Linked DNA regions of Homo sapiens: all the other regions are linked to region 3. Evidence: promoter capture Hi-C in 16 types of primary human blood cells and fetal thymus (Javierre and others, 2016). All regions are on one chromosome and are shown on one strand. Each heading gives the region's core, a stretch centred on a gene start or on the middle of the fragment in contact. The rest is flanking DNA. Distances are from core to core; before and after follow the strand shown. Region 1 has its middle 3.2 kb from the start of LINC01088. Region 2 has its middle 11 kb from the start of PAQR3. Region 3 holds the start of BMP3 (bone morphogenetic protein 3).

Region 1 (3,691 bases), core at 433-2,932, 2.1 Mb before region 3:
CCTACCTTCCTCAATTCCTATGCAATCATTAATCTGCTTTTGATCACTGTATATTAGTTTGTATTTTCTAGAATGTAATACACATGGAATCATATAGATTATACTCATTTTGTTATTCAGCCTAATTATTTTGAGGCTCAGCTATAATGTAGCACATACCAATAACTTACTCATTTTTGTTGCTGAGTAATATTCCATTGTATGGGTGTGCCATAGTTTCTTTATCCATTCATCTGTTTATGCACATTTGGGTTCTTTCTAGTTTGGGCCATTAAAAATAAAGCTGCTATGTACATTTGTGTACAGGTCTTATGTGGACATATTCTTTTATTTCTCTTGGGTAAATACCCAATAGTAAAATGGCTGGATTTTGTGGTAACCTTAAAAAAAAGTCTACTGTTTTTCAAAGTAGTTGTAGTATTTTATGATTTAATTTAATTTACAAATCTATATCTTAAATGACAAATAAAAATTGCATACATTTATGGTATACAATGTGATGTTTTGATATATGTATAGATTGTGGAATTATTACATCAAGCTTGTTAACATATCTATCACCTCACATGCTTATTTTTTTGTGGTAAGAACAGTTAAAATCTCTTTCCGCAATTTCAAGTTTAGATTATTATTAACTGTAGTCTCCATGTTGTGTAATCATTCTCCAAAATTTATTTCTCCTGTCTAACTGAAACTTTTTACTCTTTGACCAACATCTCCACATTGTCCCCACATTCACAAGCCCCTGGTAACCATCTTTCAATTCTCTGCTTCTATGAGTTCAACTCTTTTAGATTCCACATAAAAGTAAGATCATACAGTATTTGTCTTTCTGTGCATGGCTTATTACACTCAGCATAATATCCTCCAGATTTATCTATGTTGTCACAAATGATTAGATTTCATTTTTTATGGCTGAATGGCTGAATACTATTCCATTGTGTATATATACTACATTTTATTTATTCCCATTAATAGACACTTAGGTGGATTCCATGTCTTGAAATTGTGAATAATCTGCAATGAACATAGAAGTACAGATATCTCACTGACTTACTGATTTCATTTCCTTTGGATAAATACCCAGAAGTAGGATTGCTGGATCATATGGTTGTTTTATTTTTAATTTGTTGATTAACATCTATGCTGTTTCCTCCAATGACCATGGGTTATACTATTTTATAATTCTGCCATCAAGTGTATGAGAGTTCCAGTTCTCCTATATCTTTACCAATGCTTGGTATGGTCAATTTCTACTTATTTGTTTGTTTATTGATATTTAAAATTTTATCCATTTACCCAGGTATGAAGGGGCATCTCATTGTGGTTCCAATTTCCATTTCCATAATGACTAATGATGTTGAGACTCTTTTCATGTGTTTATTTGCCACTCATTATCTTTTTTGCTGAAGTGTCTGTTCAAATCTTTTGTCCTTTAAAACATTGGGTTATTTCTTTTGAATACAGTGATTCAATTTATTTTGAATCATTATGTATTCTGGATACTAGTTTTTTAAAAAATTATAGAAATCATTTGGAAATATATTCTTCCATCCTGTGGCTTATTTTCTTATTCTATTAGCAGTATCTTTTGAAGAACAGTACATTTAATTTTGATAAGGTCCAATTTGTCAGTTTGTTCTTTCGTAGATTATTTTTGTTATATCTGAAAAATCTGCCTATCATAAGGTCACAAAAGTTATTCTCCTATTTTAAAAAGAAGTTTTGTCATTTTATTTTCAGTTAAGTCAATGATTCATTTTAAGTTAATTTTTGCATGTGGCAAAATAAATAGATATATTAAGGGGCAGATTCAAGTTTCTTTTTTGCATGTGGATATCCAGTTGCTCCAGCATTGTTTTTGAAAAGACTATCCTTTCTTTCTCTATTAGATTTTCTTTGCATCCTTGTGGAAAACATTTGCTCATGTATGTGTGGGGGTGTCTTTCTTTCTTTCTTTCCTTTCTTTCTTTTCTTTTTTTTTTTTTTTTTTTGAGACAGAGTCTCTCCCTGTCACCCAGGCTGGAGTGCAGTGGCACAATCTTGGCTCACTGCAGCCTCCGCCTCCGGGGTTCAAGTGATTCTCCTCCCTCAGCTTCCTGAGTAGCTGAGATTACAGGCATGTGTCACCATGCCTGGCTAATTTTTCTTTTTTTGTATTTTTAGTAAAGATGGGGTTTCACCATTGGCCAGGCTGGTCTTGAACTCCTGACCTCAGATGATCCTCCCACCTCGGCCTCCCAAAGTGCTGGGATTACAGGCATGAGACACCTTGCCTGGCCAGGTCTGTTTCTTCATTGATCTACTGGTGTATGTTACAAGTACTACATTTATTTGATTACTTACAAGAAGTCTTGAATCAAATAGCGTTAACCCCCCAACTTGTTTGTTCTTTTTTAAAGTTGCTATTGTTTCTTGCCACTGAGCTAAAAAATAGTTGCTGTTGACTATTTTAGGTTCTTTGCATTTTCATATGTGTTTTGTCAATTTCTACAAAAGTCCTCCTGGGATTTTGATTGGAATTTGCTGGAATCTGTAGAATAATTTGGGAAGAAATGACATCTTTAAAATATTGAGTAATATTTTATATATTACTGGCTAATTAATATATCTATTTATTTTGTTTTTTCTTTATTTTTTCTCAACAATGTTTTAAGATTTCTGTTTATAGGTTTTCCACATCTTTTATGTACATTATCCCTATTTTATATATTTTTATGTTATCATTAGCGACATTTAAAACATTCAATTTCCAATAACTTGTTGCTAGTATATAGAAATTCAGTTGATTTTATATGCCAATCTTGTATCCCGAAATCTTGCTAAGCTTACTTATTAGTACAAGTAGCTTTGATTCTCGATTCCATCACATTTCTATACAAATGATCATATTGTCTGTGAATAAAGACAGTTTTATTTCTTCTTTTCTGATTTCTGTGCTTATTTATTTTTCTTTTCTTTTTTTATTGTACTAGCTGAAACTTCCAGGACAAAGTTGAATAGAAGTGTTGAGAGTAAAAATTCTTGTCTTGTTCTGGTCTTTTATCTTTCAGTATAATACATTTTCATAGGTGCTTTTTTTTGGTTGAGAAAATTCTCTTCAGTTTCTTTTTCACTGAGTCGTTTTATGAGGAATGGATGTTGGATTTTGCCAAATGGTTTGTTGTGCCTATTTTATGTGCCTATTATGTACATGTTGAATAATTTCTTTTTTCTTTTTTTTTTTTTTTTGAGACGGAGTCTCGTTCTGTCACCCAGGCTGGAGTGCAGTGGCATTATCTAGGCTCACTGCACACTCCACCTCCTGGGTTCATGCCATTCTCCTGCCTCAGCCTCCCGAGTAGCTGGGACTACAGGCGCCTGCCACCAGGCCTGGCTAATTTTTTGTATTTTTAGTAGAGATGGGGTTTCACCATGTTAGCCAGGATGGTCTCGAAATCCTGACCTTGTGATCCGCCTGCCTCAGCCTCCCAAAGTGCTGGGATTACAGGCGTGAGCCACCGCGCCCGGCCCTGAAGAATTTCTTTTAGCATTTCTTGTGTAGGTCTCCTGGAAAAAAAATCTGATTTGGGGAGAAGGGTATGAAAATGTCTTTATTTTTCATTTTTGTAGGATATAGGACTATGCTACAATTTTATGTAGAATCTATTTAGAATCCTATACAGAATTCCAGACTAACATGTTTCACTTT
Region 2 (3,696 bases), core at 772-3,271, 2.1 Mb before region 3:
TGCCTCCACTTCCTGAGTAACTTTGGTCACAGGTATGTGCCAGCATGCCTGGCTAACTTTTTTTTGTATTTTTGTCTTATTTTTATTTCAGAGTTCCCCTCAAAAAATAACCTACTTTTTATTTTTTATTTTTTTTGTAGAGACACGGTTTCCCTATGTTGCCCAGGCTGGTCTTGAACTCCTGGTCTCAAGTGATCCTCCTGCCTTGGCAAAATGCTGGGATTACAGGTATGAGCCACCATGCTTGACCTCTTTTTTTTAATTAAACTTTTTATTTTGAGGTCATTGTAGACTCATATACAATTTTAAGAAATGACAGAGATCCCTTGTACCCTTTACTCAGTTTCCTCCAATAATAACATCTTGAAAAGCTATAGCACAATATTACAACCATGATATTGACACTGATAACAGTCAAGGTGCAGTATCATTCGCCACAAAGATCCATTACCACAAAGATCCCTTATGTTGTGGATTCAGCCACACATACTTTCTCCTGCCCACCCATTCCTTAACCCCTGATACCACTAATTTGTTCATTTCTATGATTTTGTTGTTTTGATAATGTTATATAAATGAAATCACACAGTATGTAACCTTTTGGGATTGGATATATCGCAGTTTGTTCAATCATTTACCTGTTGAAGGACATCTGGGTTGTTTCCAGATTTGGGTTATTATACAGGTTTTTGTGAAAATCGAATTTTTCTTATCTCTGGGATAAATTCCCCAAAGTGCAATTGCTGGGTCACGGTCAGATGGTAGTTTCATGCTAGGGTTTACGATAAATACCCAACAGTTTTACAATAAATTTTCTATAAATAAAGAAGTGAACAAATAATGTTATACCAAAATCTTTAGAATGAAGATTGGGCTTGAATAAATGTATTTTTACCATCTGCACAGACAATCCTATTAACTACAAAAATGACATTCTAAATATTCTGAAACATAATACAAAGCAGAAATCAATAAAGCTTAAATGTGAGGGATAAGCTTATTCATTACTCTAGGAGTCAGGGTTTTTTAGCCTAAAATGTATTTATAGTAATAGTGAAGTCTGATTCACCAGAAATGATGTACAGACATTACACTATAATATTTAATCTCCAAATGGCTACACTTTGAAAATTAGATCTAAAACCCCCACAAATGATAAACATAACTTGATAATCAGTAATGTATATTAAATAAGTAACCACATGCTCTTTAAAGATGTTTTCCTGTTTTTATGGTGGTCCATTACAGTGTTCCATTTCAGGGTGCTCCATCAGAGTTCTTGCCTTGGGTTACATCATCTCATCCCAATGCCAAGCCCATCTTTTCATTTGAAACTCACAGCCAGCACTTACAATAAGGGTCTTCATGTATCATAGAAGGAACATGTGCTAGACCCAGATGGACGTGAGGCTGAATCTGAACAATATAACTTACTGGCAAGTTATAGAATTTCTCTTGGTCTTGATTTTCTCATCTATTAGATGAGGATAAGTCTAAACAACCTAAATAACTTGACAGGGCTTAAAGTCACACGAAATAACATATACAAAGTACCTGGCACTGAAAAAGCATCAATAATATTCAATTCCCTTCACCTATGGCATTTTAAATTTTCCGAGGAATAAATTCCAATGTTTATTTATAAATGTTGCCCAAATTTGTAGTGGGTTGTTACAGATCATTCTTATCCAGGAGATTTGAACGTGTAAATTTAACAACCCAATCATATCCAAGGAAATATTCAAAGGCAGTTGATGCAGTTTCCACAGGGCCTTCTTAAAATTAGAGATAGATATTAAAATAAAGAAAAAAAACTATGCCTCATTGAAAAAGTTTACATTTTGGGATACAAACCCTATCTTCTTATTACTTGTTTTCTTATATTTTCTTCGGTATGAATATATACACTCCAGTTCAAGAAAATGAAGGGATTTTTTCTTAATTTGGGCTGATGTATTTTTATTTTTAATAAATGCTGTCAGAAACAGGACCACCATTTGCAGAGCCCAGAATTAAACAAACACCATCTTGCAGAATGGTTAAGAAAATGCATCAGGAACCACTAATAGTAGAAATCACCTCTTATAACAGACAGGAGTAGTAGCTTGCAATAATCTCATATCTGATTTGAACTTATAAAATTGAGGAAGTTCAGTGGTGGCTTCATCATCTATTTGCAGTGTAAAATTTAGGAAAATATGCATAAAAGATGAAAAATGCAAGTTAACATAATGTTTCATTTTTCAGTGGTGTTTTGAATTATTATTGGGAGCCTGTTTGTATCAGAGAAAAGAATGAGAAGAGACATTTATCAAGAATTTAAAGGAGCTACTCTATAGTAAAAGATGATTGGGTACATCTTCAATAGAATTCTTTAACTCTATTGTGGCAAATTGAGAAATAGGTTGAAATAATGGCGTAAAACCAAAAAAATCAAGGTTGGCTCTGCTCTTTGGAGTACCAGGTACCACATACACCACAAGGCCCTGCCTAACTCAGAAGATCATCTCCATTAGTCCAACACAGAGACCTAAATGATTGTTGTGTCTTCAGAAATACCTCATGAAAAAGTGTTCAAATTACTTTGGTGATGAGATCAATTAGCATTTGTCGTGAAATCATTTACCAGATTAGCTAGTCACTACCTAGGTTAGAACCCTGAGAAAATAAAGCACAGGCAGTTTAGTTTTGTTGAGAGTAAGGGGGATTGTGGGAAGTTCCTAGCATGAAGTATTTATAAGGAAGAAGGAAGGAGGAGCTGAAAAAGGAGGTGGGAGACAGGGAAAAGGAAGCAGGAGCATCCTGGAGTCTTAGAGGATCAACTGGCTGTAAACTTTTGAAAGACAGGAAATATGGTGGGTTCACCATTGTATGCAGGTTAAATATCACAGCACCTGGGACATAGCAGGTGCACAAAAAAATATTTATTGAACAGATGAAAGAACGTATGTTCTAAAATGAGGGCTGGTATCGATTCTGAAAGGGGCGGAAGGAGAGCATTCCAAAGTAAATTTATGTAACAAAGTTTTCCTGGCCCTGGCCCTGCTGAAGCTTGTAGAGCCATGGGTATGAATATAAGAGGCTGTGGAATTTCCTTCTGTAAGATCTTTAAAAATGGTATAGATTCTTACATATCTGGAGGGGTTCCTATGAAAACCAGGAGAATGATCTGAATAATCTGAATAGCCTCTGGTTCTTTCTTCCTTGGGCTTTTGATTTGTTTTTGTTTTTCAATTTCAAGAGATGCAATGCAAAATTATATATTGCCATAATTACTACCATGCAAATAACAATAATAATTTATTGAGTTTACTGTATGCCAGACAACTTGCTGAGTGTGGAATCTCCACTAATGAATTGTCTCATTTTTATTAACTCTGAGGATTTTGTCAGTTATTATACAGTCCTCCTGCAGATGGCACTCTTCTCCTGCAGAATTGTCACCTCTTGCGCTCTGGACTTGAGCCTTACACTGAGATAGGGATGAGAAATGAGTGATTTTAAGGTTGGTACACTATGATTAAAAAAAAAATTATCTATATATGATTTGAAATTCCTAAATATGAATAATCCAGCCCATTAGAAATTTAAAGAGTTTTTAAAATACGAAACTTAAGTTCACAAAATTTTTCAATGGCTTTGCAGCTTTGTCTTTATCTTTATCATAACGGAACATAATTTGCTGTTCTATTTTCC
Region 3 (3,947 bases), core at 441-2,940:
GGGCAAAATCCAAACCGCAGTGGGTTAAGAAGTGACTGAGTGGGGAGAATGTAGTCTGGATTTGGGATAAATTTAGGATAGAAAGGGATTGAGCCCCTATTAAAGGCTAGTGAGTGCGCCAGTCACTTTAGCACTGCTTTCTAATGTCATCCAAACAAAACTCTAAAAGGAATGTGTTGTTATTCACCATCAAAGAAGAAACTCAGATCTGGAGACATGGTGTGACTCCAGGAGCCTATCTTCTTTTCGATCAACTCCATTGCCCTACAGAGGGGAAGAGGGATAAATGCAATAGACATTGACTGAAGATTTTACTGCATATGGTCAAGAACTGCACTAAACATTTACATGGATTGCACACTGAAACTTCAGTTTAAATGCTAATTTCACTATTAATAGTGTGGTTATCTGGCCTGAGGCCAGAAATCAGACTCCCTGAATTTGGATCTCAGTTCTGTCACTTACTATGTATCCTTTTGCCTCAGTTTCCTCATCTGTAAAATGGGTTTTGCTGTGAAAATTATTTGGTAATATACTTGAAATATAAATAACAAGGCATGTCTAGAGCATAAGTGTGGAGAAAAATGTTAGCTCACAGTTGTTTTTTGTTTGTTTGTTTGTTTTTTGTTTTGAGACAAAGTTTGCTCTGTCACCCAGTCTGGAGTGCAGTGGCACAATCTCGGCTCACTGCAACCTCCATCTCCTGGATTCAAGCCATTCTCTTGCCGCAGCCTTCCCAGTAGCTGGGATTACATGTGCGCACCACCACGCCCAGCTAATTTTTGTATTTTTAGTAGAGATGAGGTTTCACCATGTTGGCAAGGCTGGTCTCGAACTCCTGACTTCGTGATCCACCCGCTTTGGCCTTCCAAAGTGCTGGGATTACAGGCCTGAGCCACTGCGCCAGGCTGCTCATAGTTTAATCTCCATTGTACAGCCATGACAAGAGAGAATTAGGAAGACAAAGCTAGCGACTCTTACATTCTGTTCCGGACTCCGGGATCTTCCACACACCCTTGTTTTTAGCCACCACTGCACCATCCTGCTGGGAAACCTTTTGGGGACCTGTAGGAAGGAAACCTTTGGGGGAAGCTGTAGGTGGGGTTGTGGTGTGTTTGCTTGTTTTCTTATTTGTTTTTAACATGATATTGACTCGCACATATTTCTCACCTCGAGAGAAGATGATGCGGGAGAGAGGGGCGTTATGATGGGTATGCTCTCAGAAAGACAGGAAGCTATGATGACGGGCTGCAGGTGCAGGGGCCCGCAGTGTCCGTCAGAAGAGGCTCGGGAAAGTAAGCGAGAATGGTGTTCACGTTGTGACTTTGTTTGGAATCATAAGACCGAAAAGCCAGGAAGAAGTTCTGTTTTCCTCTGCCCTCTTGCTAGCCACCACACAGCCACTGTTCTTGGAGAATTAAAAAAAAAAACAAACAAAAACAAAACAAAACAAAACAAAAAAACCGTCCCTCCTACCATTTCTTTAGTCCTGAATCTCCTTTTCCCTTCCTCTCCCCAGCCATCCCCACCCCTACTTCCTCTTCTCTCCCTCCCGCTGCCAGTTCTCTGGTTACTCCCCCCCTCCCTTGCTTCTATCCCAGCCTGGTGCAAGCTAAGAGGGCGAGGACGAGGGAGTGGGAGAGATTGGCTGAGGACTCTACAGATCAGCTAGAGAGCGAAAGAACTAAGTCTCTCTCTCTCATACACACACACACACGCACACACGCGCGCGCGCGCGCGCACACACACACACACGTACACTAAAAAACTCGGACCAGCCGCGCCGCAGCTGCTCCAATCCCTGGAAAAGGCAATCGAGCGCCCTCCGGACCGCTGCGCACAGCCCCGGCTCCGACCTGGCGCCCAAAACAGAGCTAGTCCTAGTCCCTCGCGCGGCCAGTTTGGCCGGGTGTTCCCAAAAATAAAGCGAGGAGGGAAGGTACAGACAGATCTTGAAAACACCCGGGCCACACACGCCGCGACCTACAGCTCTTTCTCAGCGTTGGAGTGGAGACGGCGCCCGCAGCGCCCTGCGCGGGTGAGGTCCGCGCAGCTGCTGGGGAAGAGCCCACCTGTCAGGCTGCGCTGGGTCAGCGCAGCAAGTGGGGCTGGCCGCTATCTCGCTGCACCCGGCCGCGTCCCGGGCTCCGTGCGCCCTCGCCCCAGCTGGTTTGGAGTTCAACCCTCGGCTCCGCCGCCGGCTCCTTGCGCCTTCGGAGTGTCCCGCAGCGACGCCGGGAGCCGACGCGCCGCGCGGGTACCTAGCCATGGCTGGGGCGAGCAGGCTGCTCTTTCTGTGGCTGGGCTGCTTCTGCGTGAGCCTGGCGCAGGGAGAGAGACCGAAGCCACCTTTCCCGGAGCTCCGCAAAGCTGTGCCAGGTGACCGCACGGCAGGTGGTGGCCCGGACTCCGAGCTGCAGCCGCAAGACAAGGTCTCTGAACACATGCTGCGGCTCTATGACAGGTACAGCACGGTCCAGGCGGCCCGGACACCGGGCTCCCTGGAGGGAGGCTCGCAGCCCTGGCGCCCTCGGCTCCTGCGCGAAGGCAACACGGTTCGCAGCTTTCGGGCGGCAGCAGCAGGTGAGTGCGCGAGGTGAGACTCCCTTCCCGCGGTCCCGCCCCAGCTTTCTCCCGGGACCCCCCACAGCTTCCTTGTCTGCCCCTTGCTTGGTGGCGCTGCCTAGGGACCTTTCTCCGCCCTCCTCAGCTGCCCTCTGGATTCCTCCGTCCAGTCACACCCCGCGTGTCGCCAGCTGCATCTCCTGTAAGCCCAGTTTTCAAATCCAAAGTGAGAGGGGGAAATAGAATGAAGGCGCGGAGCAGTGGAGGGGTAGGCTGGAGGAGCTTCGTGGAAAAAGGGAAGGGGCGACACCCCATGCCTGTGAGGCCTCCTGCCCTGAGTGACTGGAGCACCTCTAGGGTACCTTATTCTGTTGATTCCTAAATCGGCCAGCGGAAATTCCTTTGGACTGGGCTTTAGCCATGTTTACTAAGAGGCAGATGCCATTTTATGCCAATGCCAGGACCCGAGAGAAATCATACTTGAATAAGACGCCTTCCCCTCTCCTTTTCTCCTTCCCCAGTCGCTTCTCCAGATATTGCACCCGCTCCTAATTCGCGCCCTTTGTGTTACTGTACTATATTTGACACTTTACTTGATAGTTCCTTAGTGGCAAAAAAAAAAAAAAAAAAAAAAAAAACAGGTGCTTGGGTGTTTCGATTATTAAAACGCATCTGGGTAAACAGGGGTTGTACCATCCATCCTGGGAGGAGCTGGGAGACAAGGGGAGGGAGCAACCCTGGATGTAAACACCTCTTGGAATCTGCCCAAGAAAATCTGCTCATCCCATTTTTCAGCACAGATCACTTCGGACTGAAATTCATGGCTTAACAAGGTTTCTCCTAGCCCCTGTGGTGAAGGGAATAACTTATGCTAACAGCCTCCCTCCCTTGTGTTAACAGCTTGAGGGAAAGCTTCCTGGACACTAACTCTGTTTTTATGCTTTGAGGATTCACCAGGCTTTTTTGTTCACTACATTCATGATAAGGGGAAATGTAACTGCAAAGCCTGTCTTCAGTGAACAGTTGAACAATAGCCAAGAATCTTCAAGAAAATGAGGCCATGCCTCAGTCAATACTGTCAGAATCACTAGAAAGAAATCTCCCAAAGTTTTGATATGCAAGACTCCTGGAAAAAGGGAAAACTAAGGCATTCATCAAGGAAAGCCCTGCATTGTCTGTGTAAATATATTCTAGAGCTTACAGGCATGATGACATTTACAATAGATGTGAATTATGCTTCCTAATACAGAAGTCTTTAGCTAGAGACTGAACTGAACCAGATTTTACTTTCTTCTTAAAACCATGAGCATGATCTGTGAGGAGAGCGCCACCAGTAAGGAAAAAGAAACCTGCTCTGTGTTATCCACAGTATCCTAGCCATT

What was found. Contacts are between HindIII fragments. The CHiCAGO score rates a contact against its expected background, and 5 or more counts as called.
Region 1: a fragment that was not itself captured here is called in contact with the fragment with the promoter of BMP3 in region 3 in 1 of 17 cell types (M2 macrophages); the score reaches 7.4 in M2 macrophages.
Region 2: a contact is called between a fragment that was not itself captured here and the fragment with the promoter of BMP3 in region 3, in 3 of 17 cell types (M2 macrophages, M1 macrophages and total CD4 T cells). The highest score is 7.4, in M2 macrophages.

The regions. Positions count from the first base shown.
Region 1 is chr4:78,966,741-78,970,431 of GRCh38, forward strand. No RefSeq gene overlaps it. Among named protein-coding and RNA genes, the nearest start is that of LINC01088, 3.2 kb to the right of the region's middle. The HindIII fragment of the contact is 2,286 bases long and covers 540-2,825 here.
Region 2 is chr4:78,948,645-78,952,340 of GRCh38, forward strand. No RefSeq gene overlaps it. Among named protein-coding and RNA genes, the nearest start is that of PAQR3, 11 kb to the left of the region's middle. The HindIII fragment of the contact is 2,055 bases long and covers 995-3,049 here.
Region 3 is chr4:81,029,018-81,032,964 of GRCh38, forward strand. It overlaps BMP3 (bone morphogenetic protein 3), which reads left to right and starts at 1,691. Exons shown (of 3, transcript NM_001201.5): 1 at 1,691-2,583. The coding sequence starts at 2,268. The HindIII fragment of the contact is 6,285 bases long and covers 1-3,475 here.